Linked DNA regions of Homo sapiens: region 1 is linked to region 2. The links are contacts of gene promoters, found by promoter capture Hi-C in human tissues and cell types (Jung and others, 2019). All regions are on one chromosome and are shown on one strand. Each heading gives the region's core, a stretch centred on a gene start or on the middle of the fragment in contact. The rest is flanking DNA. Distances are from core to core; before and after follow the strand shown.

Region 1 (2,700 bases), core at 136-2,635, 200 kb before region 2:
CAGGACCCAGACCTTAGTTATAGATTAAAAGAAGTTAATCACTTATGTCTTCAGATGAATGCACACTTACACGTAGGCATATAGCTTAGAAGGTATATAAACTCTGGAAAACTTTGTAACTTTGAGTTGGTCTGGCAATAACTTCCAGGCCTTCTCCCTGTAACTGGTTAGAGAAATAAAAACTCTCTTCCTCCCCAATTCATCTGCATCTTGTTATTGGGCCACGAGAAATAGCAGCCCAACCCTCAGTTTGGTCCAGGAGCAAAATTGACCATATTTCCTTTAATCGTTTCACCATTTAATAGGTATAGTGTTTCAATTTGTTTTGCTGTTATAAAAATGCTGTGAAAATAGTAGCTAATAGAGCAAAATAAATAGCATTTACTGGACACTTATTTCTGCCAGACACTGTAATAAGAACTTTATTATTTATTTTCAAGCTTACCGTCATTCTATGAAGTAGGAGCTTTAATTTGCCTTTCTTTAGAGATGGGAAATCTGTGACTGAAAGGTAAAGAAGGCTCCCCATGGTCAAACCTATTTAAATCTCATGGGCTGGGATTTTAATTCAAGTTCACCTGCAGACCCTCTACTCCTTACTTACTCAGCACATTGCTTCCTGGTGAACAGTCTTGTAGCTAAGTATTTTTTTTAAAGGCATTTCTGTTGTACAAACTCTTTTAGTCCAATGGGGATGAAACACAACTTGAGGTGGGGAGATCTTGCTTTCTGACTCTCCTCTACATTGACTAATCCTACGTTCAACTCATGAGCCTTCGTTTCTTCATCTGTAGAATGGGGCTAACATCACCTGCCCTGCCCATCTTAATTGTGCCTCAAAAAACAGAATCTATGTGTTAAAGTGTTGAAACATGTAACATTCCACCCAAACAGAAGGCAGCAGTGGTAAAGGTGGGATTGGAGATGGTTTCCTGGGTAGAGCTTTTAGCAAAGGGCGTGAGTTTATCACTGAAAGCTTCAAGGTACAGCTGTTCAAAGGGGTAAATTGATTAAAAGAAATGATAGCATTTTCTGGCTTCGTGTAAATATACTGTCCATTGGATTTGAGGGGGTGCCAACATAAATAAACTCTCTACTCACTTGAAATAAATTACCCATCCAGGAGTTTCTAAAAATATGGCCCTTTTCCCTCCAGGTATTGATTCTTTCAGGGACAAACACTTGCTGAGCTCCAAGATGATGACAAATCATGCTGTAATTTGTCAGCTGCTTTCATGCCCCTGATTAAGTCATGTGCTTCACTCCTGATCCACACCACTCAGCTCAGTGGTGGGTCTCTAAATCCAAACTCATTTCAGATATGACTGGCAGTGGGGTCTGAGCACTAATGATCCTTCTGTAATGCCTCGGAGTCCCTGCTGCCTGTTTAATCACACCTGCCGGGCCCCAGCAATGGTGAAGTTTGACTCTTGTTCCTCTGTTGGGGCTTCCTAGCCACCTCCCTCCTGAAATGTCCCTTCCTCCTGCTGTGTCTCCTTTCCTGCTGAGCACAGGACTTTTGTCCCCATCTTCCTCTTTTCATGAAAAGGTGACCCTGCTCTTTCTAGCTACTTGTCCCCTGGGCTCTCTTCTTCAGTTGGAGGAAGAGGGGCTGTGGAGAGGGGCATATGGGTCCTGCTGGCTGCAAAGACAACCACTGAGGCCCTGCTTGCTTTTAAGAATTTGCTGTATTTCCCTCCAGGGCAGCTGCTGGGCCAGCTCAAGACACAGAGAACTGCTGAGCCTTACAAACCTGTCAGGGTTCTTATTTATTTATTTATTTATTTATTTATTTATTTATTTATTTATTCGAGACAGGGTCTCACTCTGTCACCCAGGCTGCAGTGCAGTGGTGCGATCACAGCTCACTGTAGCCTCGACTTCCCGGGTTCAAACAATCTTCCCACCTCAGCCTCCTGAGTAGCTGGGACTACAGGCGTGCACCACCAGACCTGACGAATTTTATATTTTATAAAATAAAATTATATATGTATATATTATATATACATATATAAATACATATGTATAAATAATATATACATATATAATTTATATATAATATATACATATATTTATGTACTATACATGTACATATTATATACATAAATATAAATATATATAAAAATATATAATATATTATATAATATATTATATATTAATTATATATAATATATATTATAAAAAGATTATAAATTATATATAATATATATAATATATATATAATTATATAATATATTATATATACATGTATATATAATATATTATATATACATGTATATATAATATATTATATATACATGTATATATAATATATACATACATATTTATATTTATATATTATATATATTTATATTATATATTTATATATTTATATTTATGTATATAATTATGTATATATTTATGTATATATAGTGTATATATTATATATACACGTGTATATATAACATATACATGTATATATTATGTATACATAAATATATATTATAAATACATAATATATATTATATATACAATATATTATATATACAATATATTATATACTATATATCATATATACATACAAATATGTAGTATATATACATACGTAGTATATATACATACGTACATACATACATAGGTAGTATATATACATACGTACATACATACATAGGTAGTATATATACATACGTACATACATACATAGGTAGTATATATACATAC
Region 2 (2,728 bases), core at 123-2,622:
CTGTAAGAAATGAATTTTCCAAGAATTTTTTAAAAAGTCATCAATGGATGAAATGACAAACTCAGTGGGTGTTATTAAGAGTAATTATAGTAACATCTAGACAGAAAACAACATCTGTGATCTGCCTGATTAATGGCTTAATGTAACTGTATGTCTGTTAATGGAATAATACTCCAAGCAGTCTTGACTGTACATTTGCAAGATCTGGAAACAGAGAAGAAACTGTGGAAGAAGGAAGTAGCAGAGTGCCAGATTGGCTTTGGGAGGTCAAGCTCCTCTCTACAGTTTTCAAATTCTCCTCTGCCTACCTGGCAAATTCAGAGAAAATTGCCTGGCAAATTCAGAGAAAAACCAAGTTCCACCAGACACAGGCATGCACTCCTGTAGGCAAAATAACTAGCAGCTCAGTATAATTTTTATTTTTAACATTACTTTTCACCTTAGGGTTAGGGATAGTGTCACTCCAGCCTTAATAGCAGGCCACAGGACTGTCCTAAATGTATTCATCACAGACCTGCATGCATGGGGCTTTTTTATTTTTTTTCTGGAAGGAGTAACTCATACTTAGGGAAAAAACACATTTTTCTTTAAGCAACAGTTTTCTCCTTTGAACTCAAAGGAAAGTCAAGCTTCCCACCTATAGTTGAAAACTACTGCAATATGGCAGCTTCAGAGTTTATCAAGATGAAATTGGGAAGCCATGTAATGATCTCATTCTCTTCCTCAAAGCTATAGTTTCTTTCTGCTTTGAGAAGAAGGCTGTAACTCCATCTGCTTCCTCAGGCTGCACTGGATGAATGCAGGATAGCAGGATATATTATTTATCATAAAATGTATTCAGGCACATTCAGACTGCAAGCCCTGTTGAGTGAGGAAGTAGCATTTGCCATCAGCTTATCATAATGAAATCAATTGACGAAAAATAAAACATTCTGTTAGAAAAGAAATGTGGATCTCGCACCCAGAAAGCCAAATGAAATTTCAAATGCAGTGTAAAGAAAAGTAGTCATATCCTGGGCCTAATTCAGAACTTAGACTTGATGATTCTAAGAGGCAATTACTCCCCCATTATATAGGTTAAGGCCAGGATGCTTTTACTTACCCCAGCAAAGCTGACGTCCCTATTGAGCAGACTCCAGTAGAAGAAAACAGTGCTTGAAAGTGGCGGTATTTCTCTCGCACACCTTGGCTAAAATAGTTCTCTTTCCTATGGAATTTTTCATTTTTCTGATTATATCTGATTATGTCAAGGCAAGGCCTCAAGCTAACACTCCCTCAGAAACTTAGAGAAGATGACACACTGAAAAGAAATAACTGTGACCAATGAAAGAAAAAGGAAAAATAAGCTGCCTCGCTAGGCCCAAGAGTGAAAGAGAAGAATAGCAAGTCTGTGAATGTGAGGCCGAGTCCCAGAACAGTGAAGGCAGTGTTCTTCGACTTGGCTGAACATTTACATTGTTAGACATGGTTCTTGCATAAATTTCTACTTCCTGTGAATCAATGAGCCAGCAATATCAAAATTCATGGTGATTTTTATTCTCTACGCATGGTACAAAATGACTTTGTCCATCTACCTTTGGTAATGCATGTAATTAAGTGTGAGACAATTATAACCTTGCAGTTCTCTTTGGGGGGCCTGAAATATGATTCAGCTGCTGGGTTTCAAGGGCACTTAAGAAAGAAAAGACTCTCTACAGTGACTTTTATATGCATGCTGATGATGAATTTGCCCTCAAAGCTTCAGAAGTCTCATTTTGCAGTAGTCATAGTTTTTATTGATTACTGTTTGATTATACAAAATAAGGAAAGTGGGACCAATATATTATAGTGGCAGATTATGTGAATGGTGCAAACTTACAGAAAATCAGAATTAGTAATGGGCTTATTGATAGCTTCGATTCATACCCTAAAATGAGATTTTCATGTATAATCCTTTTATTAAGTTACCTACAACTCAACTAATTGGCATAAATGTCATGAGCAAGTTGCTGTATTGATGGATAATTATTGATGGGTCCATAAATAAAAGAGAAGGTAGAATGAGCAGTAAGTTGATTTTAAGGGTAGTAAAAAAAAGAAATATTACCAAACTTAGGAATAAAAGGTGTTGGAAAGAAGTGAACATACTAACTTCATGAAAATCTTTACATAAGATTTTGGTTGGTTGGTAGAGTAATTGTGAACTTTGTATGTACCTACAGATCTTATCAGAATACCAAGAAGAAACATGGACATAGGAAACATTTTACAAGAGAAGAAACACCCACACCATCTAAAATCTGCATCGCTGTGTGTGTAAGACACAAGCTAGGAATTTTTAAGAACATGAAATTTGCCTATGCTTTAGACAGTCTAGAATTTTTAAAAGAGCGAGTTGGCATTTCAAAATTCTCCATCTGCTAAAGAGAAGAATGCTTAAGTCCCTGTTCCTTTACTTCCCTTCACTCAGAGTGCTCTGGCTTCTAGGGACGAGTGTGGTCTAGAATCACAGATACGGTTAAATTGCAGAATATTGCACTAGTGGGTAACTGGAGGTTATTTAGTGAAGCCCCCTTGTGCCATGGAGGAGAATGCTGAAGCTCAGAGAAGTGAATACAATTGCTCAAAGCCAAACAGGAATTTGGTGGTGAACATGGGACCTCAAACCACATTGTCTTTCTCCTAAGACTAGTATATTTTCCATCACTGGTCTTTCTCCTAAGACCAGCTCTTTCCCATTATCACTTTC

Evidence for each region. Contacts are between HindIII fragments. The study calls those that stand out against the background at their distance.
Region 1: a fragment that was not itself captured here is called in contact with the fragment with the promoter of ATP10B in region 2 in 1 of the 25 tissues and cell types used here (dorsolateral prefrontal cortex).

What each region holds. Positions count from the first base shown.
Region 1 is chr5:160,650,666-160,653,365 of GRCh38, forward strand. All of the region lies in intron 7 of ATP10B (ATPase phospholipid transporting 10B (putative)), which reads right to left. Among named protein-coding and RNA genes, the nearest start is that of MIR146A, 170 kb to the left of the region's middle. The HindIII fragment of the contact is 3,316 bases long and covers 1-2,700 here.
Region 2 is chr5:160,850,839-160,853,566 of GRCh38, forward strand. It overlaps ATP10B (ATPase phospholipid transporting 10B (putative)), which reads right to left and starts at 1,373. Exons shown (of 26, transcript NM_025153.3): 1 at 1,103-1,373. The HindIII fragment of the contact is 6,864 bases long and covers 1-2,728 here.